Regions from separate parts of the Homo sapiens genome. Here regions 1, 2, 3, 4, 5 and 7 are each linked to region 6. The links are contacts of gene promoters, found by promoter capture Hi-C in blood cells and fetal thymus (Javierre and others, 2016). All regions are on one chromosome and are shown on one strand. Each heading gives the region's core, a stretch centred on a gene start or on the middle of the fragment in contact. The rest is flanking DNA. Distances are from core to core; before and after follow the strand shown. Region 1 overlaps TIAM1 (TIAM Rac1 associated GEF 1). Region 2 has its middle 49 kb from the start of KRTAP19-8. Region 3 has its middle 68 kb from the start of KRTAP19-8. Region 4 overlaps TIAM1 (TIAM Rac1 associated GEF 1). Region 5 has its middle 30 kb from the start of KRTAP19-8. Region 6 holds the start of TIAM1-AS1 (TIAM1 antisense RNA 1). Region 7 overlaps TIAM1 (TIAM Rac1 associated GEF 1).

Region 1 (3,648 bases), core at 1,093-3,592, 380 kb before region 6:
ATCCTCCCGCCTCAGCCTCCCAAAGTGGTGGGATTACACGTGTGAGCCACAACGAACGCTTGGCCTCTGGCACTTTTATTGTAATCCTGTGGGCTACTCACTGAGGTAAACCAAGGCACCTGCTTCGCCCCAACTGGTCAAGTGGAATTCTAGGGACAATCACAGCACAGCTGTATAAACCACAAAAATAAAGTGAACGTGAACCCAAAGAGAGAGAGAAACAGGCGTTTGAAACTTCGGAAAGACACTAATGGTGTCACTTCAACTATGATTCTTATAATTTGCATAAAAGCTGAGGTTTTGCATAATTACTGTTACATAATTCCATTTATTTTTTCTTGGCTTTCTTCTTGATGTAAAAAGGAAAAACAAGGCCATAAATGGGGATTTGTGTTGGAATTCTCTCAATAAATGCTTTATAAAACTTTTTTTTTTGAGACGGAGTCTCCCTCTGTCGCCCAGGCTGGAATGCAATGGTACGATCTTGGCTCACAGCAACCTCTGCCTCCCAGGTTCAAGAGAGTCTCCTGCCTCAGCCTCCCAAGCAGCTGGGATTACAGGCGCCCGCCACCACGCCCAGCTAATTTTTGTATGTTTAGTAGAGACGGGGTTCCACCATGTCGGTCAGGCTGGTCTGGAACTCCTGACCTTAGGTGATCCACCTGCCTCGGCCTCCCAAAGTGCTGGGATGACAGGTGTGAGCCACTGCGCCCGGCCTATAAAACTTTTTTTTAAGAACTGTTTTACATCTAGATTTGCTTTGCTTTCCTATATTGATGTTCCCTGCAACATTTCCCTAAAAGGGTGATAGAGCTATACCTTTTAATAAATTAGGCCAGTAGTTCTCAACTGGGTAAGATTTGGCTGCCCAGTGGCCTTTTGGCAATGTCTGAAGATATGTTTGATGGGCACAACTTGGGGAGGTGGCGTACTATTGTCTCGTAGTGGCTTGCAGGGGTACTGCTAAACATCAACACACAGGACAGCTCCCCACAGCAAAGCATTACCTAGCCCAGATTGTTAATATTGCTAGATAAGATCAGTATTCAAAATAAATCACACAAGAACACAAGAGAGACTTTTTTGAAACCTCATACAAATACAGTTCTGCAACTTCCTATTCTAGCTTCCCCTTCACTGCTAAGATCTTTTTATAAAAACAGCCACTGAAGGAACTATCTTTTTGTCCTAGACATCCTTCCCTTTTTTTCCTACCAATATGTATGAAAACAAATGCTTAAAAAAAAAACCAAAACAGATGAAAGTAGCTCCAGTAAGACTGCAACCAGAACTCAGGGATGGCAAACAGCCAAGGATAGGAAACTGAGTCTTACAGAGAACACTCAGCATAGACTCTCCTTATGCAGATCCTGGCTTTCTAAGCCAACGTGGCAACCCATTCAGCAGGCTTCCCTCGTAAACCAAGGAACGGGAGAATGGAGAATGTACTACAGGACCACCTAACAAATTTTCATTACAAAAAAATCTCAATGAAGCAGATCACAAAATGTGATCAAGAAACTATAGAAGGTTTGCATGTCACCGTAAAATTCCAATTATCTTATGATTCCACCAAGACAAGAAAAAGGACAGGGAGCAGTAACCAGGAAGAGTTGGTGACCTAAGGCAGTGGCTCCCAACCAGGGCTGGACATTAGAAGCAACCACCGGAACAAATGCAGACCCAGACCCCATCCCACACTAGGTGACTCATGAGCTCTGAAAAAGGGCCCAGGAACCTCAGCATTCTAGACTACAGCATTCAGTTCTTTCTACTCGAGAAAGGAAAATATGAACAAGCTGTAATTCACAAACTTAGTTATCAGGTAATTCACCTGTTGCAGACTGAGGTGGCGTAGAAGGCAGGGAGAATACTGAAAAAGAGCAATCTCTGGTCATAGGCCAGGGAATCCTCATGTCCCCCATAAGAGAATGGCTTCAGGTACAAAACATTTATTGAGCGCTTACTGGGTAATATTCTAAATGCTTTACTTTTATGCCTCATTTGGTCCTCACAACAGCCCAATGAGATGACAGTGTGGCATTATCCCCATTTTGCAGGTGAGGACACTGAGGCACAGAGGGATTAAGCATGACCAGGTCAAGGTCATGAAGCTGATGAACATAGAAATGGACTGATTTCTGGCCAGGCATGGTGGCTCATGCCTATAATCCCTGCACTTTCGGAGGGTGAGGCAGGTGGATCACCTGAGGCCAGGAGTTCGAGACCAGCCTGGCCAACATGGTGAAACCCTGTCTCTACTAAAAATACAAAATTTAGCCGGGCGTGGTGGCGGATGCCTGTAATCCCGGCTATTTGGGAGGCTGAGGCAGGAGAATCACTTGAACCTGGGAGGCAGAGGTTGCAGTGAGCCAAGATCCTGCCACTGCACTCCAGGCTGGGTGACAGAGTGAGACTCTGTCCCCCCCACCAATGACTGAGTTCCAAAGAAATGGACTAAGTTCCAAATAACTTGGTTCCAGGCCCTAATCTTCGCCACTAGGCTGTGATGCTTCTACATAGAAGAAACAAACCTCTCTATGAGAAAGCAGTTCAGAAATAATCCAACTTTGAAAGCTAATCCCATACTCACTCAGGGTCCTTAAGGGAGGACCTGGCCAAGTCTGACCACTTGAGTTTGTGAGACTGTGGAGCTCTGCAGGACAAGCCTCCAGCAGCCAGGTAGCAGCCAGCACTCACGTGGACCCCAAGGTCCCTGAGACCCAGCAAGGCTCTCTGTCGAGGACACCAATCATCCACCTTAACTTACTCCCATCAAACCTCAAACCTGCCACTCAGGATGTTTCCTATTTTTGTTACTTCTAAATTTAGACTAAGGCTGTAGTCCATCCTGCCCGTTGTACAAAATTTTCTCGGTTGTTTTCTATTTTAACTGCAGTGGTCTGCTGATACTGCTTTATCTCTGCCCCATCACAGAGCAATCTTTCAGTTATTTTATCCTGTTTATTTGCCTCCACTTTTATCTTCCACTGTTAAGTGGGGACTAGGAAGCAGAAGCAATCAGAAGGCAGATAGGCAGAGACCCAGGTGGGGAAGTGAAATGCCTTCTCTCCACCAGCAGGTCCAATTGGGCTGCTACTTGACCAAGTATTCAGGAATTCTTTTTTTTTTTTTTTTTTTTTTTGAGACGGAGTCTCGCTATCGCCCAGGCTGGAGTGCAGTGGTGTGATCTCGGCTCACTGCAGGCTCTGCCCCCGGGGTTCACGCCATTCTCCTGCCTCAGTCTGCCGAGTAGCTGGGACTACAGGCACCCGCCACCTTGCCCAGCTAATTTTTTGTATTTTTAGTAGAGACGGGGTTTCACTGTGTTAGCCAGGATGGTCTCGATCTCCTGACCTCGTGATCTGCCTGCCTCGGCCTCCCGAAGTGCTGGGATTACAGGCGCGAGCCACTGAGCCCGGCCAGGAATTCTTCTGAAATTTACTAATTTTGAAGCCAGTTTAGAAACTTTACCAAAAACAAAAACAACAAAACAATACAGTGGCTTTACTTCCATGCTTTATTCCTGAGTCAGTCTGATTACCTAACTTGACAAAGCAGACTCTGTTCTGGAGGATTTTTCTTTTTTGATGGAGTTTCGCTCTTGTTGCCCAGACTGGAGTGCAATGGCACAATCTTGGCTCACCG
Region 2 (3,742 bases), core at 528-3,027, 470 kb before region 6:
CTCCAGATTTGACAATGGATTTTTCTAAACTCCCACATTGCCCTCTCTGGGGCCAGGACAGGCTAAACTGTGAAAATGAATGGTTGAGGAAAAGAATACTGAACTCTGCCATGTGACTGTTCAACTGTTAATCTACACCCAAAAATGAAAGTCCATTTCCATCCTTAAAAATAGTAAAGGGGAAGGAAAAGTATCTTTTCCATTTGGTCCATTTTCTTGGAAAGTTTGTTATTAAAGGAAACGGTGGCCAGGCGCGGTGGCTCACGCCTGTAATCCCAGCACTTTGGGAGGCCGAAACAGGCGGATCACCTGAGGTCAGGAGTTCGGGACCACCCTGACCAATGTGGCAAACCCCAGTCTCTACTAAAAATACAAAAATTAACCAGCCGTGGTGGTGGGTGCCTGTGCTCCCAACTACTCGGGAGACTGAGGCAGAAGAATGGCTTGAATCCAGGAGGTGGAGGTTGCAGTGAGCCAAGATCGCGCCATTGCACTCCAGCCTGGGCGGCAGAGCAAGACTCCGTCTCAAAAAGATAAATAAATAAAATAAAGGAAACAGTTATTTGTCTGGGAAGAGGTGGATAAATGTTCAAAGAATGTGAAGAAGAGAAACATCCCCTTCCTGTTATCACATCTGAGCTGACTTATTGAAATAATAACAGGAGAAGGAAATAAAAAAAAGGGAAAGGAAAGGAGGAAAGGCCAGAGAGGAGGGAGGAAGAGAGAGAGAGAGAGAGAGAGAGAGAGAGAGAGAGAGAGAGAGAGAGAGAGAGAATGAAAATAAGAACGATAATTTTGGGACCCAGCAATATGCTTGAGTTTGCGTTTGACTCTAAAAACATTCATAGTGAAACAGCGGCCTCCTCTGGTCACAGGCAGGAAATTCAAGAACTTCTGTTTCTTACCAAAGTCAATTTTAAACTATGAAAATGGATGGATTATTACATTGGAAAAGAACTGTATTCAACATTTACCAAATCTGCCGTTGTGCACTAAAACCGTATAAACTAGAAAACTCAACCCAAAATCAGTGTTCTGAGGGTGATGAGTTCCAGCAAAAATCCTATGAGAAATTAGAGTTGGATAGGATCTTGCTCACATTTAATCTATTCTCCCTCACAGTGATCTTCCCTAGTTAAATTAAGTAAAAGTTGAAAATTATCCTCCAGGGTGAAACAATTTTCCCAAAATGGTCACTACTGGTCTGCTTGTACTCCATTCGGAGCCAGATAGACCTAGATTTGAATGCTGGATTCATAGAGCTGCATAACTTTGGACCAGGACTTGCCCTGTTTTTCCATCTGTAAAATAGGCCCCATAGCACCTCTCAGGGCTTCTCTGCAGATGCAGTGAAAGCACACACAAAGCACTAAGCATGTAGGAAAAATTTTGACAACGTCAGGGCCCCTTCCTGTTGCTACCACTGAGTCCAATATAGCTCGTAGCTCACTGAATTGTATGTCTAATGTTTGTGTATTTTTTTTTGTTTTACTCATTTATAAAAGCAAAGATCGTCTTTATAACTTTTATTGCGGTAAAACGTGATATTTGGTAAGATATAATTTGCCATTCTAACCATTTGTAAGTGTACATTTCAGTGGCATCAATTATATTCACAATATCGTCCAACCATCACCACTATCCATTTCCAAAACTTTTTCATCACTCCAAATAGAAACTTTGTATCCGTTAAGAAATAATTCCTCCTCCCCTCCTCCTCCTCTCATTGCTGGTAACTTCTAATCTACTTTCTATCTCTATGAATTTGCCTGTTTTATATATTTCATGTAACTAGGATTATGCAATATTTGTCCTTTTGTGTCTGGTTTATATCACTTACCATAATATTTTTGAGATTCATTCATGTTGTAGTGCGTCCGGAATTGGTGGCTTCTTCGTCTCACTGACTTCAAGAATGAAGCAGCAGACCCCCGCGGTGAGTGTTACAGTTCTTAAAGATGGTGTGTCTGGAGTTTGTTCCTTCTGGTGGTTTCGTGGTCTCGCTGACTTCAGGAGCGAAGCTGCAGACCTTCACGGTGAGTGTTACAGCTCTTAAAGGCTGCACGTCTGGAGTTTCGTTCCTTCCGGTGGGTTCATGGTCTTGCTGGCCTCAGGAGTGAAGCTGCAGACCTTCGCGGTGAGTATTACAGCTCATAAAAGCGGCGCAGACCCAAAAAGTTAGCTGCAGCAAGATTTATTACAAACAGCAAAAGAACAAATCCTCCACAGCATGGAAAGGAACCTCAGCGGTTCGGGTGGCCTGCTTTTATTCCCTCATTTGGTCCCACCCACATCCTGCTGATTGGCCCATTTTACAGAGAGCTGATTGGTCCGTTCTACAGAGAGCTGTTCGGTCTGTTTTGACCGAGTGCTGATTGGTGCGCTTACAAATCTTTAACTAGACACAGAGTGCTGATTGGTGCGTTTACAATCCTTTAGCTAGACACAAAAGTTCCCCAAGTCCCCACCCGATTAGCCAGACACAGAGCAATGATTGGTGCGTTTACAAACCTTTAGCTAGACACAAGTGCTGATTGGTGCATTTACAATCCTTCAGCTAGACGGAAAAGTTCTCCAAGTCCCCACCCCGCCTACAAGCCCAGCCGGCTTCACCTCTCTCTGGCACTCCCATGGGTCTTTGCGGCACCTAGCCTGGGCACTCCCGCAGCCCGGACGGAGCTCGTTCCGGATCAAGCCCAGCGGACACCTGCCGGCCGCGCCAAGCGCAGAGCCCGCCGAGCCCGCGCCCACCTGGAACCGTGCCGGCCTGCGAGCGCCGTGCGCAGCCCCGGCTCCCGCCCGCGCCTCTTCCTCCACACCTCCCCGCCAGCAGAGGGAGCCGGCTCTGGCCTCGGCCAGCCCCAGAGAGGGGCCCCCACAGCGAAGCAGCGGGGTGAAGGGCTCTTGGAGCAGGGACAGAGCGGAGGCCAAGGCCGAGGAGGCGCCAAGAGCGAGCGAGGGCTGCTAGCAGTTGCCACCTCTCAGTAGCATGCATCAAAACTTTATTACATGGGGTGCAGTGGTTCACGCCTGTAATCCTAGCACTTTGGGAGGCCGAGGCGGGCGAATCACCTGAGGTCAGGAGTTCAAGACCAGCCTGGCCAGCATGGTGAAACCCCGTCTCTACCAAAAATACAAAAATCAGTCAGGTGTGGTGGGCCACACCTGTAATCCCAGGTACTTGGGAGGCTGAAACAGGAGAATCGCTGAACCTGGGAGGCAGAGGTTGCAGTGAGCTCCAGCCTGGGCGACAGAGCAAGACCCTGTCTCAGAAAAAAAAAAAAAAAACTTTATTCCTTTTTCTTGCTGAATAATACTTCCTTACATAGATATACAGTTTGTTTAGCCGTTCATCTGTTGACAGACACTGAGTAATTACCACCTTTTGGCTATTGTGAATAATAAGCATTGTTGCACAAGTAACTATTCAGGTCCCTGCTTTCGGTTCTTTTGTATGTATACCCAGAGCATACGGTACATTCCATGTTTCATTTTTTTTCATTTTTTTAATAGAGTCTCCCTATCTTGCACAAGCTGGTCTCCAACTCCTGGATTGAAGCAATCCTCTTCTCAGCCTCCCAAGTAGTTTGTATTACCGACATGAGCTACCACACCCAGCTATGCTTAATGTATTTGTGTGTGTGTATATATATATTTTTTTTTATTTATTTTTTTTTTTTGGAACCACCACCATAGTCTATTCCACATCAGGTGTACCATTTTACATTCCCACAAGCAAGCC
Region 3 (3,652 bases), core at 89-2,588, 450 kb before region 6:
CCATTTTTATGTTACAGAAAGAATGGGGGCTTGGATTCTTGTAAAACAGGTTATGGGAGAGGGGAGAAGAGGAATTCTATTGAGCGGCAATAAGTGATTGCTAGGGAGGATGATTGGGTGGAGAACAGAGATGAAATTGTAAATAGTTTTCTTTGGAATTTAAATGGACTTGGAAACAGCCATTATACTTATAAAAGTTCTGCTCTGGTGTGGTCACATCTTAGTTTTCTTTTCTGCAACAGATAATGAGACAACAGGAAGAGAAAGAAAGAGTCATTATTCTCCTTGGTAGCTCTGTGTATTAGTCTGATTCGTCTGTTCTCAGGCTGCTAATAAAAGACATACCCAAGACTGGGTAATTTATAAAGGAAAGAGGTTTAATGGATTCACGGTTCCACATGGCTGGAGAGACCTCCCAATCATGGCAGAAGTGAAGGAAGAGAGCAGAGTCACGTCTAACATGGTGGCAGGCAAGAGGGCATGTGCAGGGGAACTGCCCTTCATAAACCATCAGATCTCATGAGACTTATTCACTATTGCAAGAACAGCATGGGAAAACCTGCACCCATGATTCAATTACCTCCCACAACACATGGGGATTATGGGAGCTATAATTCAAGATGAGATTTGGGTGGGGACACAGCCAACCTATATCAGTTTGTATCTTAGGCAGATAAAGGAACTTCAGTTTGTTTGGGAGAGCTCTTGGGGATAGGTGGTCAGAGACCTTGAGGCTTCTTCATTTCAGCATGGCAGAAATGCCATATTGTGAGGTATTGCTTTCTGAGCCCCAACAAGTTCAAACTTGTAAACTCCAACTAAGCCCCACCTCCAGAGTCTGTTGCATTGGGGATTAATTTTCCAACACATACTTTTTGGGGAACACATTCAAGTCATAGCAGTCACTAAGATTGTCTTAGTGTGTTGGTGAGTTCGGCCACACGTGAAGCATCTTTACCCATCTGCTGTGGTTTGAATGTGCCCCCTTCTCAAATTCATGTTGAAACTTATATTAGTCCATTTTCATACTGCTATGAAGAAATACCTGAGACTGGGTAATTTATAAAGAAAAAGAGGTTTCATGGACTCACAGTTCCACATGGCTGGAGAGGCCTCACAATCATGGTGGAAGGCTAAGGAAGAATAGAGGCACATCTTACACGGTGACAGGCAAGAAGGCATGTGCAGGGGAACTGCCCTATATAAAACCATCAGATCTCATGAGATTTATTCACTATTATCAGAACAGCACAGGAAAAACCCACCCTCCTGATACAATTACCTCCCACCAGGTCTCTCCCAAAACATGTAGGAATTATGGGAGCTACAATTCAAGATGAGATTTGGGTGGGAACACAGGCAAACCATATCATTCCACTCCTGGCCCTTCCCAAATCTCATGTCCTCACATTTCAAAACCAATTGTGCCTTCCCAGCAGTCGTCCAAAGTCTTAACTCATTACAGCATTAACTCAAAAGTCCACATTCCAAAGTCTCATCTGAGACAAGGCAAGTCCCTTCACTTAAGAGCCTGTAAAATCAAAAGCAAGTTAGTTACTTCCTAGATACAATGAAGGTACAGGCAATGGGTAAATATACCTGCTCCAAATGGGAGAAACTGCCCAAAACAAAGGGGTTACAGGCCCCATGAAGTCCAAAATCCAATAGGTCAGTCATTAAACCTTAAAGTTCCAAAATGATCCCTTTTGACTCCATTTCTCACATCCAGGTCATGCTGATGCAAGAGGTGGGCTCCCATGGCCTTGGACAGCTCCACCCCTGTGGCTTTGCAGGGTATAGCCCACCTCCCAGCTGCTTTCAAGGCCTGGCATTAAGTGTCTGCAGCTTTTCCAGGTACACGGTGCAAGCTGTCAGTTGATCTACCATTCTGGGGTCTGGAGGATGGTGGCCCCCTTTTCACAGTTTCACTAGGCAGTGCCCCAGTGGGGACTCTGTGTGGGGGCTCCCACCCCACATTTCTCTTCCACACTGCCCTAGCAGAGGTTCTCCATGAGGGCCCTGCCCCTGCCGGAAACTTCTGCCTGGACATCCAGGTATTTCCATACATCCTCTGAAATCTAGGCAGAAGTTCCCAAACCTCAATTCTTGACTTCTGTGCACCCGTAGGCTCAACACCACGTGGAAGCTGCCAAGGCTTGGGGTTTGCACCCTCTGAAGCCACAGTCTGAGCTGTTCCTTGGCCCCTTTTAGCTATGGCTAGACCAGCTAGGACAAAACAGGGCACCAAGTCCCTAGGCTGCACTCAGCAGGGGAGCCCTGGACCTGGCCCAGAAAACCATTTTTCCCTCCTAGGCCTCAGGCCTGTGATGGGTGGTACTGCTGTGAAGGTCTCTGACATGCTCTGGAGATATTTTCCCCATTGTTTTTTGGTGATTAACATTCGGCTCCTTGTTACTTATGCAAATTTCTGCAACAGGCTTGAATTTCTCCCTAGAAAATGCATTTTTCTTTTCTGTTGCCTCATTAGGCTGCAAATTTTCCAAATGTTTATGCTCTGCTTCCTCTTGAATGCTTTGCCACTTAGTAATTTCTTCCGCCAGATATCCTAAATCATCTCTCTCTAGTTCAAAGTTCCACAGATCTCTAGGGCTGTAGCAAAATGCTGCCAGTCTCTTTGCTAAAGTATAACAAGAGTCACCTTTGCTCCAGTTCTCAACAAGTTCCACATCTCCATCTGAAACCACCTCAGCCTAGACTTTATGGTCCATATCACTGTCAGCATTTTGGTCAAGGCCATTCAACAAGTTTCTAGGAAGTTCCAAACTTTCCCACATCTTTCTGTCTTCTGAGCCCTCCAAATCCCTAGGAAGTTCCAAACTTTCCCACATTTTTCTATTTTCTGAGCCCTCCAAACTGTTCCAACCTCTGCTTGTTACCCATTTCCTTTCTTACTCTTCCCCTCTGTATTGAGACTTCATCTCAAAAAAACAAAACAAAAAAACAGTGTGTATCACTTCTCCTTTTGCTCTCTTCCTCCTGCTCCAGCTGGCTTCCCCTTTGCCTTCCACCATGATTGTCCATGCTTCCTGTACAGCCTGTGAAACTGTGAGCCAATTAAGCCTCTTTTCTTTATAAATTACCCAATCTCACGTAGTTCTTTATAGCAATGTGAGAATGGACTAATACAATTAATAAAACATTTCAGAGTCATTTCAGAATCTAACCAATGACTTGGACTTTTCCAGCTTGAGATGCCAGCTTTCCTCTTGCCTCCCCAAGACAATTTTATTTTTGCCATGTCAAAATTTCTTAAACATAGTATCTACCAAGGTACAATAGGAACATTTCCTTGTAGAAAGCATGACCATTTCTTAACTTATAAAAACAAGCTCCATGGCAGAGAGGGATCCCCTCTGAGGCCCCACCACATGGCAGTGGCAGCCTGGGATCCCACTCCCGGGATTAGTGATATTGCTGGAGTCTGTAGATCTGAAACATAAGAATTATCCTGGACAAGCTGTCTTCATAAGAGAGCTCTTAATAAATAAAAATCAGACCAACTTTTCTGGGCTATTACAGAAAAATGAGCAAAAGAAAATAACAACTGAAGGGTAGCAAATATAACACCTCAAAATTTGACACTTTGGCATAAGGAACCTTTCTTTTCTTTTTTATTTTATTTTATTTTTTT
Region 4 (3,917 bases), core at 1,065-3,564, 300 kb before region 6:
ACGGAATAGTCCCAGGGGAGCCTCAGCAGTTTTTGTAGCAACTGCAAGGTAGGTTACCTCTTAGAGTCAAATACTAAATTTTAATCAAAAAAGGCAGAGGACATCAAGGGAGATGGTAAGATCCTGGCTAGACAGAGAAATAATTCTAAACATGGTTCATGATCTAGCTGAGACTTCCAGAAAACAGCTCAAAATAAACTCTCCATGTTAGAACCACTCCGTTGAAGAGATTTCCGATCATGAACAACATTCACAGGGCCGAGAGGCTCTTCAATCCTGTTCTCCCAGGACAAATTCTCTGAAGCCAGATTTTCAGGGCACTCACCAGTTGCCATTCCACTGGCAGCTTCCCCAAAAAATGAATGTATGCACAAGTGGCCAGCTGTAGCCTAATACATACAACAGCTGTGGGCAAGAGTTTTCTTAGCATTTGAGCTGGGCAACAAATGCTTAAATGAGCTCCCAGGCTAAAATGAGGGAGGCAAGAGGCAAATTCAAAGCCTGTTTTCACTGCCTTGAAAACTGGAGGGTCACGCAGCATGAATGTAGACTAATGACACATTGTGGTAAGGCTCCAGTTGTTTTGACAGGAGACTTCAAATACTACCAAAGGGAGAGGTTTTCTGTGCTAATGATGTGCGAACACAATTTTGAAAATGCAATTAGCCAGAAAGTGCAAAGGCTCTGGGACAATTCCAGGACCAGTAGAATCAATTGGCCACTTGTAGTTAAGTTATAAGTCGAATGCAATTAGATACTGTTTCCTTTGTCACTTGAATTTCCCTGATAGATCCAGCTTGAATACACCTGTGTTAAGATGCTAACTACAATGCAGAATTCACTGAATTCCAGGGGGTAAAGAAATGTGGACCTACAGAAACCCTGAATTAGAACTGTTTCTGGCTTGTTAAATTCTAACATGTCCTTCCTCTGATTTATCATCTTCTTCCTAACCCCAAAATATTAAGTACCCCTCACTACACACACACACACACACACACACACACACACACACACACGTATATTATCTTTGGCTCTCAGTATTATCTCCTTGGTATTCTCAGTATACTCTCCTTTGATAATCTCAGTACAGCAAGTATCAATTCTAGGTAAATGACTCTGAACCAATCCATGCCTCAATTTCTTGATATGTATAATGGGGAGAGCAACACATCTACTTTGTAAGACACTGTATAAGACACTGTGAGATTGAGTTAACCCAGGAAAAGTGTCTTAAACTGAGCCCAGCACATAGTACCTGCTCAAAAATGTTAACTATAATTACGGTCATCTCTACCTTCAGCCCTACTTACATCTTGGCCCAAGGAGAGAAGGCATTGCCTGAACTCAGTTGCTAACTTCCTGCACCAACATGGAAGAAAGGTCTCTGAGAAACCTGGGAAAAACACAGGCATACCAAGGCTGGTGCCAGCCTAATACTAATTAGGCTTGTTAATTGTTCTCACGTTCACAAAACAGCACACTAAACTAGGAAAATGGTGACGTTCTCTACATTATAAATTAGTAACTACTGGTCACTATTATGAAATACTAATAATTGCCATCCCTGATTTGCCAGAATAGGAAATCAACTCTATTTTCCCTCCCCTTCCTTTCTTAGGGCAAAATCTCTATGCCTTTCTTTTTATGTTTCCAACAACCCATTCCTTTTCTTCTAACGATTTCCAATGGGAGTGACTCACAATTTCAGCTACAAGCATTGGAACCAAAATTCCTACTGTTACTAAAAAGGGATTCCAAAGTAAGTTGGCAAAAGCTTGAAATGTTCCTTCAGGTAACTCCTGATTGGAGAAGCTTTATGTCTAAGTTAAATGAATCATTGCCTCTCCTTTCATCTGCTTTTCTATGTATGTGCTTATACCTTACAGTCATCCCTCCCCTCCCTCCTCACTATCCATAATATATCAGAGACTCAGTTTTTTCTCTTCCCCTCCGAGTGCCACATCACTGGTTGAGCAATAAGCTCTCTCTTCTAACCCATCTTCCTTCCATCAATCCATCCGGCACACCACTGCCAGGTAAATGTTCCAGGAGCAATGTGGAGGACTCCTCAGACTGCTGTTCAAGACCCTCCCCCGGTGTCCCGCGTTAAAACTTGAGCTTCGATGTCCCCACCCACTAGTGAAATTGAAGAACTCATTCCAGGGCATACTCCCAACCTTTCTCACTCCCAAGAATACTCACGTCCCCCCTTTTACTACAACCAGAAGGCTTCTCTGTGCTTCCTCCAACTACCATGCCAACCTCTCCACAGCATCTCCTCTCCCACCTCCACCCCACCCCAGCCACCCTGAGCTCCTCCTCCTTGCTCGAATGTGCTGGGCACCCTCCCACATTGCAACTCAGGAGCCAGCTCCCTCCTCCCCTCCTCTCCTTCCAAGTCCCTATCCAGGTCTGCCCTCACCCTGACCACCCTGTCAGAAATTGCCCCCCACATCCCCCACACCCCATCTTCCTCAACATGCCCTGTCTTTCTTCCACAGCACATCGCTTCCTTATTATGCTAACTGTTTTCTGCCACACACACACCCACTTCACCCCAACGAGCTCCACGAGCTTGTGGATCTTTCCTTGTTGACGCATCCCAAGTGCCAAGAATAAAGCCTGGCATGGGGAAGGCACTTCAAAAATAATTGCTGAATGAACTCACTGCTGCTCATTTTCCACCACAATCTCAAAACAAGGAAAACAGTTTCTCATGGAATGCACTGCAGCTGGAGTTAAAGGTTTTGTCATTTCTAAACTCAGCTCATGCTCAACTAAAGTTGAGGTGACAAATGAGTCCTAGCTATAAAGCTTACATTTATAGGCTTTAAGCAGCCTAGTTGGATTATGTCTTGTGTGGATGCAATCGGAGTTCACTTAAATTTTTGTTCTTTAACTCTTTTAAAAAATTGAGGAAGTAAGAAAGATATATTAGGCTGGACGCAGTGGCTCATGCCTGTAATCCCAGCACTTTGGGAGGCCAAGGCGGGTGGATCACGAAGTCAAGAGATCTAGACCATCCTGGCCAACACAGTGAAACCCCGTCTCTACTAAAAATACAAATATTAATGCACCTGTAGTCCCAGCTACTCCGGAGGCTGAGGCAGGAGAATCACTTGAACCCGGGAGGCGGAGGTTGCAGTGAGCTGAGATTGCACCACTGCACTCCAGCCTGGCGACAGAGTGAGACTCCGTCTCAAAAAAAAAAAAAAAACCAGAAAGATATATTGAACTATCTTATGGCCCAAGCTAGATACTCGGTCAACTGGTGGTCCAAAGCCAACTGGGCCCAAATGACAATGTGACAGGCTGGTCAGGTGTTTCCTAAGTTCTCCATTGGGATCCATGGAGACCCTGTCAGGCCTTTAGGGCAGGCTGGCTTTATGGCCACATCCAACAGTCACACATTTACAGTTATGCTGTAAAAAAACAATGATTACACATTGTTATGACACAATTTGAGTCAAGGGGCTCAACTTTCCTCTATTCTTATACTAGGAATGTGATCTTCTTTTTTTTTTTCCTTTTTCTTTTTTGAGACAGGGTCTCATTCTGTCATGCAGGCTGGTGGAATACAGTGACATGATCATAGCTTGCTGCAGCCTCAACCTCCCAGGCTGAAGCATCCTCTCACCTCAGCCCACTACGAAACTGAGACTACAGGCACACACCACCACACCTGGCTAATTTTTTTGAAATTTGGTAGAGACAAGGTCTCACTATGTTGGCCGGGCTGGTCTTGAACTCCTGAGCTCAAGCGATCCTCCCACCTCGGCCTCCCAAAATGCTGGGATTATAGGCATGAGCCAATGCACCCGACCTAAGAATGTGATCCTCAAAAGCTGAACTGGTGGGCATAGTGGTCCATGCCTGTAGTCCCAGCTACCCAAGAGGCTGAGGCAGGAGGATCA
Region 5 (4,133 bases), core at 926-3,425, 490 kb before region 6:
AAGACACATGCACATGTATGTTCATTGCGGCACTATTCACAACAGCAAAGACTTGGAACCAACCCAAATGTCCATCAATGATAGACTGGATTAAGAAAATGTGGCACTTATACACCATGGAATACTATGCAGCCATAAAAAAGGATGTGTTCATGTCCTTTGTAGGGACATGGATGAAGCTGGAAACCATCATTCTCAGCAAACTATCGCAAGGACAAAAAACCAAACACTGCATGTTCTCACTCATAGGTGGGAATTGAACAATGAGAACACTTGGATACAGGAAAGAGAACATCACACACCGGGGACTGTCATGGGGTAGGGGGAGGGGGGAGGGATAGCATTAGGAGATATACCTAATGTAAATGACGAGTTAATGGGTGCAGCACACCAGCGTGGCACATGTATACATATGTAACAAACCTGCACGTTGTGCACATGTACCCTAGAACTTAAAGTATAATTAAAAAAAAAAAGGGTAATAACATCACCCAGAGATGGATTAGATGACACATGAGACTTTGTATCCTTTTGGGGCAAGAAGGTTAGCAGGTGTTAGGTTGTTTGGGGGGTGGTTGCATCAAGTTAGAAAGTTAAATATATGTTAAAAAGGTATATATGGTGCCAAGTTAACAATGGGTTGACTACGTAGTTTTATGCATGCCAACTGGTCTACTAGCACTATGATTCCCAGAATTATCTTCTGGGAAACCTGAGCAAGATTTGGAAGGCAGAAGTGAACGGCAGCCATTGACTCTTCAAAGACCATCATTGTTAGTGCAACAAGGGATAGAAGCAGAAGTGCTGGCAGATTCCAGCCCTCATTCATGTTTTCCCTCCTCTGTATCTAGCTCTTCTTCCTGACTGCAAGCTTTGCTGACTGTGATAGGTAATTTTATGTGTCAACTCAGAGGGCATTTTGAGATGAAATTAACATTTAAATCAGTGAACTATTAGGTAAAGTAGATTGCCTTCCACAATGTGGGTGGGCCTCATCCAATACGTTAAAGGCCTGAACTGAACAAAAAGATCAGCCTCCCTGAGCAAGAGGAACTTCTCCAACAGACTGCCTTCAGCCTTTATCTGCACCATCAGCTCTCCAGGATCTCAGACTTGCCAGTCCCCCTGCAGATTTTAGACTTCCCAGCCGTCGTAATCACGTGAGCCAATTCTATAGATAGAAAGATGGGTGGATGGATGGATAGATAGATGATAAACAGATGATAGACAGATGGAGATAGACAGATAGATAGATGATATACAGATAGATGATATACGGATAGATGGGTAGATAGATAGGCAGGCAGGCAGATAGATCCTACTGGTTCTTTCTCTCTGGAGAGCCTGAACACACGGGCCAACAATCTTTCCAGGCCCATAACCAGATGCAAAGGCAACAACAGGGTTCCCAGGCTCCTTCCCAGTTTCATTCCTCAGCTGCTGCCCCTGCCTTCCCACATTCCTTTGTGAACTCTGCCCTTGTCCACTTGCACTAGCATTTCAAAAGGCACGGTTATAGACATTTCTCTGATCCTCCAACCCCTCCTTGTAAACTATACTTCTCCGGCCCCTTCCATAATGGTATAAGGCTTTATTACTATGATAAATCCCTTATTCTATAAAACTCGTAATGGTTCTGCTGTCTTTATTGTACCATGACTGATACAATATATTACCATTTTGTGCAAAAGAAATTGTGCTAACATTCTCAGCATAGGCAGTAAAGCACTCACACTGTAAAATGGTTCTCATTTCTTGTCCCATTCATCCGCTCATTCATTCACTGAGGAAACATTTGCTGAATACCTACCATCGGCCAGGTGCTGTTCTAAGACAGCAGACTTAAAATACACAAAGGGCTGTGATGTGAATATGATCAGCATCTAGAACTATAACCACTGAAGGGAAATTGCCAGGAGGAGATTTCAGTTCAATATTAAGAACTTTCTGACAATTAAAACTGCCTCAAAGGAATGGCCTCTCTGTTCTAAGGTAGTAAAGGCCTAGTACTACAGAAATTACCTAGCAACTTACTTACTTACTTCTGACACATCAGAAGCCCTGATGCATCAGTTAGCAGAGTTTGAATATTCACCAGGTTCAATTTTATATTTATATTTGATGATTCCAATATATTATATGCTATCTGTGAGATTTTGAGACTCTATATTCTGTCTGTATTCTAAGGTGACTATGAGATATAGTAGGATTATATAGTAGTCTCAGAATAATACCAAAAAGGGAAGAGAACAGGTGTCTTTTGTTTACCATATGCCAGGCAATATTCATTAGTTGTTTTATAATCCTCCCAAAACTCTAAAAAGTAAGTGTTATTATCCCCTCTCTATGGATAAAGACACTGAAATTCAGCAAGTTATAGTGACTTATCCAAACATCTCAGCCACCAATCAGAAGAAACTGAAAACTTTCTGACCCCAAACCTATGTTTTTTCTTATGCTGTATCACCCTCAAGTTTCAGCATTTTTATGTAAGAATTAGTATGGGTCGGGCACAGTGGCTCACGCCTGTAATCCCAGCACTTTGGAAGTCCCAGTCAGGTGGATCACCTGAGGTCAGGAGTTCAAGACCAGCCTGACCAACACGGAGAAACCCCATCTCTATTAAAAATACAAAATTAGCCAAGCATGGTGGCGCATCCCTGTAATCCCAGCTACTCGGGAGGCGGAGGTTGCGGTGAGCCGAGATCGTGCCATTGCTCTCCAGCCTGGGCAACAAGAGTGAAACTCTGTCTCAAAAAAAAAAAAAAAAGAATATGATTACTATTCATAATTATTGTAAGATTATTAACTTTCACATAATAAAGCATAATTCCCCATTTTTCAGGTCAAATCTTAATGCATGCATATTTCAATATATCTTAGAATATATATTGTATTAAATATATTAAGACAATAACACTACATCATTTGTCAAATGTTTTGTATGTTCCAACCACTCCAAAGTGCTTTACATTCTCAATTCATCCTCACAGGAGTCCTGCAAATGGAGATATTTTTTAGCCTTATCCTACAGATAAGAACAATGAAAATCAAAGAGGCTAAGACATGTTTCTAAAGTTGATCAGCAACTAGAAAGTGGCAAGGCTGGAATTCCAATTTTGTTCTGGTTGACTTTGAAGCTCCTTTTCCATGTTCTGGGTACCCTGGCTTACTCTCTCCCTTGGGCTGGGGCGGGGATGGTAGATTTTTCTTACCATATTTTGCAAGATGACTTGCTCTTTCTCCTATATCTTCCAAGATTATTTGCTGCCTTCTCCCTCTGGTTGTCTCCTTAAACAGCTTCTTGTTTATTTCTATAACAGTTTCTACTTTCAGCCCCATTTAAAATAAAAATTAGGAAGACTCACCCCATCAAGCCATTTCAATATGTGGAATTGGTTGAGCAAATAAAAAAAATTTGAGAATACTGAAGTTGCCATGGATGACATATTACTACCATTCGTTGTAATTTAGGTGTTGTAAGCTTTTTTTGTTTTTTCCACTTTGCTCAATCAAGCACTCCTAACTTGATGGTCTTGCTTCTAGCTATGATTCAAATCCACGGAGGATTTCATTTTGACTTTAAACTATAGCTGATTTGCTGTAGGAGATGCTTAAGACAACCAGAGATATAAATTGCCTCATCTACCGCCAAGGGAAAAATGATTGTATCTTGTAATATGAACCTCAGGATAGGGACGAGCTTGTTGGCTATATACTCCTGTTACCAACATCAGCTACAAAGAAGAAAAATAGAATTGAGGAGAAGATCATTTGTTTTCAGCTCATTACAGGGAAAGGAAAACTACGTTAGTATATATGATTCATACATAAAGAGGAACATATACATAAACACACAGTGGGAGAGAAGCAAGCTAGCATTTATTAAGTCTTAATATATACCAAGAGCTTCAGGTATCTTAAACAACCCTAAGAGATTTGGTTATTTCCATATTATGAAGGAAAGAATTGCAAAAACAAAAAAATCTGAGTTTATAAACCCCTCCTAAAGTCCAGATTTTCTGTACCATATTCTATTGACTTTATGTACAATCTTACATAAATTCCTCTTAGAAATTCTGAGATCGTTGTATATCACTTACCTTTAATATTTCAGAATGAAAATAAAGTCA
Region 6 (4,167 bases), core at 999-3,498:
ATCTCTTTGTTCAAACCTCCCTCCTTCCTGGACTTAATCACTTTCCACAGCAGTCCTTGGTTCACTGGCAACTGCTTTCCACCTGGAAGGGTTTTTCCTTCTCCAAACCCAGGTCTGGGTCCCAGCAGAATCTTGAAGAAGAAAGAAGAAACAACTAAAACCTAATGGAAATTCAAACACATTTTTAAAAGGGCTGCAAGCGATTAGATAAATCTAATTAAACCTAAGGCCAAGTAAAACAAGTCCTGTTTGAAGCTGAGAACAGCAGTCCTTCATGCCTTTTATAATAAAAAGAAATTGGGGCTGGGGGAGTGAAGAACGCAGAAAAGGAAAGCGACAAGGGGCCATCCTCTATTACAGATTTCCTCTAACACAGAATCAACAGGACTCTAATATTTCATACGTGGCTGTCACTGTGCTTTGAGGTTAATCTATATGGTCGTTTAAGCCCCGCCCCCCTAGAGGTTATTCCTTATCCCCACTTTACAGATGCGCAAACTGAGACACAGGAAGATAGAATAGCTCGGCCGGGATCACCCAGCTTGTGAGTGACACCGAGCAGGTACTGGAACCCGGGTTTGTTTGACCTCAGCGCACAGGCTCTAAACCTCTGCTCCAACTCAAAGTATGCGCCAAGTCAGCGTGCATGGGTAACCCGATCCGGACGGCTCTGACTCGGGATGCGGCACAGCTGCCCTGCGGGGCCGCGCGGGTGTCACCGAGGCGGGCACAGACTGCACAGTGTCCCCAAGGGCTCGCGCACGTCCTTCAAGACCTGCCAGCGCGCGGGAAAAGGCAGGCTCCGAGTCAACCAGGGCTGACCCGGGGGCAAGACCAGGAGACGCGACGACTGGAACCGGGTGAGTGTGGCCGAGTCGGCGCCCCGAGGGCCGCCAGCCTGGACCCCAGGCTGGGACACGGGCGCCCCCGGGTGCAGGGGACCTAGAGGCGCCGTGCGCGGCGGGGGCTGGGCGCGAAGGCGCCGAGACGGCATCTTTCCCCTGCAGCATCCCGCCCCGCGGCCGGGGGGAGGGGGCGTCACCTGACAGCGCGCAACAACTTCTCCAGGTTTCGAGGGGGCAAGCGGCAGCCGCCGGGGCTGGGGGGCGCACGGCGCGCTGCTCTCGCCCAATGGCGAGGTCTGTAAACAAAAGCGGGCCCCACGCGGGTCCCCAGCCGGGTGGCGAGGGGCGCGGCGCAGCAGCATCGCAGCGGCAGAGCTGGTGAGAGGGCGAGGCGGGGACGGGATAGGGCGCGGGGACCCAGGGCACAGTCCCCGGGACCCGACCGCCCGGATGAGGCATTGTCTGCGCACCCGCAGGATTCCGCTTTTAATGCCCCCCTCCGGGGGTTCGTCGCGGGTCCCCAGCTCCGTGCGCCGGCCCCCGGGCTTTCCGCCCGGTGAGCCCGGCCCCGAGGGCGGCACGGATCGCCAAGGTGAGCGCCCAGGACGCGTCGCCGAAAAGCCAGGCCCGGAGGTGCCTAAGTCAGGGACCGAGACGCAAACATAGACACAAGGATGCACAAGCACGCCCTCCCCGAAGTTGACAAAAATCAGCCGATAAAATACAAAGTGCCGCGGCCGCCGCAGGTCAGCGCTGACCTCCTGCTGCCGAGAGGACCGAATGCCGACGTCCGGACGCTGTCATTTCCATCCAGCGAAGGCACCTGGGCTGCACGGTCTCGTCTCCCTCCTTCGCGCGAGGGATGCCTCCTCCTGCCTCTCCTCCCCGCATCTCCCCACCTCCCAAGTGTGTGAACACGAAAACAATACGTGGAAAGCCCGATCGGGGGGAGCTAGGACCCGCCGGGAGCCCCAGTGTGCGGGAGACGGGGGTCAGAACGTGCCCGGCACGGGCACCGAGGCTCCGGGCATCCTCGCCGCCGTCTCCCGGGGCGGCTCCGGCCGGACGCCCGCGCACCCCAGGCCCGCGGTACTCACCCGCGACGGTCGTCCGGGATCTCCGCGACGGGGCCGGGCACGATGCGGGGCAGCCGTGCCCCTGGGGCTGCGGGCGCCAAGGCGTCCGCGGAGCTGCAGAGCTGCGCGCCCGACGGCGGCGGCGCTGCTCTGCCGGCCGCGCTCGAACCCGCTCGTGGTCTGCCAATCGGAGCTGTCAGGGCCCCTCCGCCTGCGGCCTCGGGGGCCGGGCCGCGGGAGCCCGTGGGAAACCGAGCTCCGATTGGGCCGCCTGACAATCGCTCCGCCTCCGGCCAGCCAATCCGAGGCGGTGGATGCAGGAGCGGGGCGTTCGGAGTTGGGCTGTAGAGCGACTATGGGCGCACGCCGGGTATCCGCGCCGCAGCCAGGCTCGGAGCGCGCGGCTGGAGGGGCGCGGGCGGCGCGCGCTCCAGAGATGCCTTCCTGCGAGGCTCCGTCAGCGCGGCCCGGGGAGATCGCCCGCAGGCAGCGGAGGCGCGGCGGGCCGGGGGACGACCAGGGAGCCCCTAACAAAGCAGCTTTGGGAGGGCCGGAGGCCTCTGCCTCCCTCGGCGATAGGTCCGCGAAGCTGCCTGTCATCTCGCATAGGTGGAGGTGGCCAATGGCGTGCACAGACGGAGCTCTAGTTGGCGCGCGCGCGCGGCTCGGCATCGGTGGGATTGGTCGGAGGTAAAGGATTTTCCTGCCACCTAAGGCGGAGAGGAAGGGGGATCGAAACGGGGGAGGCGAAGAGTCAAAAAATGTTGTGCCTGGGACAAGTGGTCTGGCGCGGGAGGCGTGTGCCTGGCTCTAGGGGGAGACAGGAACTTTTTTACGAGAGAAAAAAATCCTAACGCAATCCCTTCCCGTGGATGCTAGAGGATGTTAGACCCTGAGCAGCCTCCAGGTAGGGCATGGTGGCCTTCACCAGAGTCCAGGACTCCCAGGGTTCACTTACCGTGCCCAGCAAGCGAACTTGGAATAACAGCGTGGGGTTTGGGCCTTACGCTTACCTGCTGGGCAGAGTAAGTGACTCGGGCAGGGTTCACGCAGACCTCCTGGGCTCCTCTGTAAAATCCGGAAACTACAGTTGCAGTTTACCTCTCGCAAGGTTGTGGAGAACGCGGAAACGGAGACGCTGGCGGTACAGCCTCGAGCGAAACCTTTCCCTACACGAGGCCGGAGCTTCCTCCTCTCCTGAAGAGCTCTAGACTTCCCCATTTACAACAAAGGCTGGGATGTATGTTCCTTACACCTTGATTCCATACACACGTGTTCGCCCCGGGAGCTGGGAAGGTCTGCGCTCCCGGGGTGATCTTGTTGAAAACAAAAAGAATTGCCCACGCTGTGGAAGATAAACCTAAACCGGAAAATTGAAAGTCATCCCTGATTCCTCCTTCTTCTTAACCCTCTCCCATCCATTTTTGTTAACCTCCCAAACCCATTCCTCCCATCCTGTCTCACCTGGACCTCAGTAAAGGGCTCCCATCGTCCTTCTGTCCCAGGCCTTGCCCCCTGAAATCTGTTCTCCACTTTGCAGAATGATCCTTCTAAGCAGAAAAATCTCATTTTGCGCTCCCAACTCTGGGTCTCTTTTCTTTCCCCAGAACACGTCAACCCCCAGCCCCTCCCTTCACTTCACTAATTCCTACCCTTCTTCAGATCCCAGCTTGGCCGCCAAGGCATCCATGCAGTAGGCATTGCTGAACTACTGCTCTTACAGACCCCGGGAAGCCTCCTGTACCCTGTCAAGGTTAGATGCCACATTTCCACTTCCAGTGCTTCCACCCCCTGTGCTCCCCTCACAGGCCTGTATGACACGGGGCTGAAGTTGCCTGTTGCACTGCAGCCTTCCATGGAAGCCGGAATCTTATCTATCTTCCCTGCTGGATCCCAGTCCTAGCACAGTGTTTGGCACATTTGGGGCACTGAAAAAACATGGAATCCATGAATTATAGAGGAGCTATAATTATAGGCAAGAGCTTTAAGGATTTGAAGTGCTTCTAAAACATCAGTTTGAGAAGAATGGGTAGCATGGTAGCTCTTGAACGGATGCGTCCACCAGGTTCCATGATCAGTATTACAGGGAGGTTTTTGAGTCAAGTTTGAGAGATTTTCCAAAGACACCCCTTCCAAAACCAGCCTCGTTTCAGCCAACAGCTTGGAATGGAGAATAATTCCCTTGAGAAGCTTTTCATCCCAGGACAAAGAGCCATTTCTTTACCTGTTACAAGCCACCATCTAGG
Region 7 (3,994 bases), core at 43-2,542, 330 kb before region 6:
ATCAAAATGTGCCTTTTCTGTGTATACGTTAAACTATCATAGAAAGTTTCAAAGAACATCCTTCCAAGGTATATTATCCTAATATTTGAGTATAATTTTTCTATAACTATGCTAAAAATATGATACCTCATATTCCGGTTTTCATTAAAAACTGTCCTTACAAAACTACAAAGGAAGTTCCAAAAAGCTTCACCCTTCTCCACCATTTATTTCTTTGTCCTCCCAAGTGCCTGGTAGTACCTGATAAAAAGCTGGTTCCTTGACCCGAAACATGCTTTCCATTTTGTTTGTATCGCTCAGTGGAAATGAGGAGCTTTTAGATTTTAGGGGAGTTCGTGTCTTCACCCCCCCTTTTTTTTTTGAGATGGAATCTTTCTCTGTTGCCCAGGCTGGAGTGCAGTAGCAGTGCAATCTCGGCTCACTGCAACCTCCGCCTCCCAAGTTCAAGAGATTCTCCTGCCTCAGCCTCCCGAGCAGTTGGAATTACAGGCACCTGCCACCATGCCCAGCTAATTTTTGTACTTTTAGTAGAGATGAGGTTTCTCCATGTTGGCCAGGCTGGTCTCGAACTCCTGACCTCAGGTGATCCACCCGCCTCGGCCTCCCAAACTGCTGGGATTACAAGCGTGAGCTACCGCGCCCGGCCATCTTCACCCATTTTTAAAGGATAATGTGTGGGCATCCAGATGCAATCCCTGCAGAGGCGCACGCAGCACTAAGGAGAGGCTATGGTTCCTGCACAAACACCTGGCAGGTGGAAGCTCAGGGGCGGTCCACATCCATATCTTCAAGGCAAACCTCTCTCATCTCTGCCTCAGTTAGAACCTCCCAGCCCCTACCCTCACCCCCTAACTCACAGAGTAAGAAAAGGAAATACCTACAACCCTGACATAATACCTGAGTAATGGATAGAAAGATCTGAAATTTCTGACAGCAAGCTCGGCTGAATATATGTTATGAACTTAAGAATTTAAATAAAAATATTTATCCAGAAGGGACTCAGATGACCATTTTTCACAGATGGAGGAAAAAAGCCCAGAAAAATTAGGAAGAACACAGTCATTTATTATAAATCCCAATCTCCACCAACCCTGTTCTTAAAAAAAAAAAAAGTTTTGGTTCTGTTTTTTCCTTGTTTAATATGACATACTGATCCTGACCCCCAGCTCTTGTTAATTGCTCTGAAAGCCAGGCTGCAGAGTCACAAGCATTACCCATTCGATAATTATTATTTTTTAGACAGAATCTCACTCTGTTGCCCAGGCTGGAGTGCCTGGGCATGATCTCAGCTCACTGCCACCTCCGCCTCCTGGGTTCAAGTGGTTCTCCTGCCTCAGCCTCCCTAGTCCCTAGCTGGGACTACAGGCTACTAGGGAGCCACACACCCAGCTAGTTTTTTGTATTTTTAGTAGAGACAGGGTTTCACCATGTTGGCCAGTCTGGTCTTGAACTCCTGACCTCAAGTGATCCGCCAGCCTCAGCCTCCCAAAGTGCTGGGATTACAGGCGTACACCACCAAGCCCAGGTAATTTTTGTATTTTTAGTAGAGAGGGGTTTCACCGTGTTGGCCAGGGTGGTCCTAAACTCCCGACCTCAGATGATCACCCTGCCTCGGCCTCCCAAAGTGCTGGGATTACAGGCATGACCATTCAATATTTTGAGCTCTTCTCATTCTAGGAATATGGGAGAATAGAACTTTCTGGCCCCCTCTGAAGCCAGGCATGGCCATGGCACTTGGCTTTGGCCAGTAAAATGTGAGTAGAAGTGACATCACTGCTCAACAAAAGCCTGATTCGCCCCATTCTTGCCCCGTTGCCACGGTCACAGAAGCACTGTGTCAAGATAGAGCTTCTGTCTGCCTGGATCCATAAGAGTCTAGGATGAGTACGGCTCTGGAGCCAGCCTCGATCATGCCAGGAAGGAGAAAGCATGTTAAGCCGCTGAGATTTAAGTGCTCCTTTCTTCAGCCTAATTCTATCCATCCTGACTGATCTACCAGCAAAGTAAGAATTCCACTGCAAAACAGGGGATGCCTCAAACATAACGGAGTCTGTGTAGTGCACTTGGAACCCCAAGAAAGACCATAATCTGATATGTTCTGTGGAACTGCAGCCTTTTGCTCTCCTTATTTAATGAAAGTGGGTCTTCTTTCCCCTGTGAGGACCCCAGCCCAATTCAGCCAATAGCAACACAATCCATTCTGATGTCAGAGAGTTCACGTTTGTCTTCCACGTAAGAAGGAAAAACGAAGGAAGCTGACCAAAGTTAAACACCCTTTGAATGGTATATATTTAATTTCGGCAAAGCAGCTATCCTGGAACTTATAAAGAAAGACAGTGGTTGCTAGGGGCCGGAGTGAAGGGGATATGGAATGTTGTTATGTAATGGGGACCGCATTTAAGCTTTGCATGATGAAAAAGAGTTATGGGCCAGGCGGAATGGTTCATGCCTGTAGTCCCAGCACTTTGGGAGGCCAAGGTGGGCGAATCACTTCAGGCCAGGAGTTCGAGACCAGCCTGAGCATGGTGAAACCCCGTCTCTACTAACAATACAAAAATTAGCTGGGCATGGTGGCACATGCCTGTAGTCCTAGCTACTCGGGAGGCTGAGGCACAAAATCGCTTGAACCCGGGAGGCGGAGGTTGTAGTGAGCTGAGATTATGCCACAGTACTCTACCCTGGGCAACAGAGAGAAACTCCATCTCACAAAAAAAAAAAGTTCTGGCGATGAATAATGGTGATAGTTGCACAACAGGGTAAATGTACTTAACGTCACTCAACTGTCCACTTAAAAATGCCTAGATGGTAAATTTTATGTGTGGTGTACCTCAATTTAAAAGAAAAAATAATTATAAAATAAAAAAAGCATAACAATCCCCAAAACCTAGAGAAGCATATATAGAAATGTGTGATGACAGCTGCATGAAACATTTAGCCATCAGCCCTTTTAACTATTAAGTATGCCTCAGCCCCCCAAACTTTTTAAAAACCTGTCAATGGCTGAAGGCAGTTCCATTAGAGAGAACTTTTGCTCCCACTGTCTTGTCTAAATAAAGCAACAGTCCCTACCATTCTCTATCATGAAGCCAAATCAATTTCTCAGAAGGACAATTCAATAAATGAGCTTTTCTGCAGTTTGTCCCTTTGCAGTGGCACACAGGGAGCTATGTGTCCACAAGAGGAGACGAACTCTCCACTGACTGCTTTCAAAAGCTAGTTGGGTGGAGAAAAAGTCTTGCAACATTTCATGACCATTTACTGGCTTAACACCTCAACTGCTCACAGTGGACTCCTGACCTGACACAATGTTGTTCCTCAAGGTCTCTCCAGGATTTAAATTCTGACATGCTAGAAAAAGCCATCCGAAGCCACTAACCTTGCCTCCCCTTCTTGAACCGGGCAAGGTTAGTTAGGGACATCAGATTCATGATGGGTCCCTTCGTCAGAATTCAGAGGCCAAGAAGGCAGGAAGGAGAGACCACCCAATGGTGCCCTCTCAACTTGTTAACCACAAATCACCTTCCATTAAACAAACAGCAGCAGACAGGTAAAGAGAGAGGGAATTCTGTGATTCTTCCTTTGCCTTCTGGAGATGCTATAAATACTGTATACAGTTCGGTGAAGGGAATAAGCAAAGTTCTTGCCAACAGACAAATATAATCAGCAAAAAAATGCATTTTGCATAACAGCCCCTTTGAGTGCAGAGATAAGATGAAGCTCAGGACTTCATTATGTATTTAAATAGATCCAGCTTCAACTATCCAATGGCATGGAGGACACTTGGTGATTTCAGATAATCAATGGTTTACGTAAGTGGCAGGAAAAGGGAAATTCATTTTAAACACGAGAAATACTAGGGAATATATGCCAAATCTAGGAAACTAAAATTTGAGATAATTCAAGTTTATAGAAGCACAAGAATAATTGTAAAGTAGGTCAAACGCTTTCATTTTAAAAGAAAAAAAAAGAAAGTTACCATTTTTTAAGAGGCTAG

The links. The method cuts DNA at HindIII sites, captures the fragments that hold promoters and counts their contacts. A CHiCAGO score of 5 or more calls a contact.
Region 1: a contact is called between a fragment that was not itself captured here and the fragment with the promoter of TIAM1-AS1 in region 6, in 14 of 17 cell types (fetal thymus, activated CD4 T cells, naive CD4 T cells and 11 more). The highest score is 24.0, in fetal thymus.
Region 2: a contact is called between a fragment that was not itself captured here and the fragment with the promoter of TIAM1-AS1 in region 6, in 9 of 17 cell types (non-activated CD4 T cells, naive CD4 T cells, activated CD4 T cells and 6 more). The highest score is 13.6, in non-activated CD4 T cells.
Region 3: a contact is called between a fragment that was not itself captured here and the fragment with the promoter of TIAM1-AS1 in region 6, in 11 of 17 cell types (non-activated CD4 T cells, activated CD4 T cells, naive CD4 T cells and 8 more). The highest score is 21.0, in non-activated CD4 T cells.
Region 4: a contact is called between a fragment that was not itself captured here and the fragment with the promoter of TIAM1-AS1 in region 6, in 13 of 17 cell types (activated CD4 T cells, naive CD8 T cells, naive CD4 T cells and 10 more). The highest score is 26.8, in activated CD4 T cells.
Region 5: a fragment that was not itself captured here is called in contact with the fragment with the promoter of TIAM1-AS1 in region 6 in 2 of 17 cell types (monocytes and non-activated CD4 T cells); the score reaches 7.4 in monocytes.
Region 7: a fragment that was not itself captured here is called in contact with the fragment with the promoter of TIAM1-AS1 in region 6 in 15 of 17 cell types (activated CD4 T cells, naive CD4 T cells, non-activated CD4 T cells and 12 more); the score reaches 28.1 in activated CD4 T cells.

The regions. Positions count from the first base shown.
Region 1 is chr21:31,175,182-31,178,829 of GRCh38, forward strand. The region is part of intron 15 of TIAM1 (TIAM Rac1 associated GEF 1); the gene reads right to left. Among named protein-coding and RNA genes, the nearest start is that of KRTAP19-8, 140 kb to the left of the region's middle. RefSeq lists a silencer at 851-1,145. The HindIII fragment of the contact is 6,195 bases long and covers 1-3,648 here.
Region 2 is chr21:31,085,775-31,089,516 of GRCh38, forward strand. No RefSeq gene overlaps it. Among named protein-coding and RNA genes, the nearest start is that of KRTAP19-8, 49 kb to the left of the region's middle. The HindIII fragment of the contact is 6,028 bases long and covers 1-3,742 here.
Region 3 is chr21:31,105,062-31,108,713 of GRCh38, forward strand. No RefSeq gene overlaps it. Among named protein-coding and RNA genes, the nearest start is that of KRTAP19-8, 68 kb to the left of the region's middle. The HindIII fragment of the contact is 8,257 bases long and covers 1-3,652 here.
Region 4 is chr21:31,255,610-31,259,526 of GRCh38, forward strand. All of the region lies in intron 4 of TIAM1 (TIAM Rac1 associated GEF 1), which reads right to left. It overlaps LOC105372777 (a long non-coding RNA gene), which reads left to right. Exons shown (of 2, transcript XR_937661.3): 1 at 1-48. Among named protein-coding and RNA genes, the nearest start is that of TIAM1, 87 kb to the right of the region's middle. The HindIII fragment of the contact is 1,002 bases long and covers 1,814-2,815 here.
Region 5 is chr21:31,066,422-31,070,554 of GRCh38, forward strand. No RefSeq gene overlaps it. Among named protein-coding and RNA genes, the nearest start is that of KRTAP19-8, 30 kb to the left of the region's middle. The HindIII fragment of the contact is 2,613 bases long and covers 870-3,482 here.
Region 6 is chr21:31,556,985-31,561,151 of GRCh38, forward strand. It overlaps TIAM1-AS1 (TIAM1 antisense RNA 1), which reads left to right and starts at 2,249. Exons shown (of 2, transcript NR_171013.1): 1 at 2,249-2,611; 2 at 3,033-3,503. It also overlaps a transcript of TIAM1 not described here. RefSeq lists enhancers at 249-1,062, 1,876-2,688 and a silencer at 1,968-2,597. The HindIII fragment of the contact is 6,855 bases long and covers 1-4,109 here.
Region 7 is chr21:31,229,307-31,233,300 of GRCh38, forward strand. All of the region lies in intron 6 of TIAM1 (TIAM Rac1 associated GEF 1), which reads right to left. Among named protein-coding and RNA genes, the nearest start is that of TIAM1, 110 kb to the right of the region's middle. The HindIII fragment of the contact is 2,215 bases long and covers 186-2,400 here.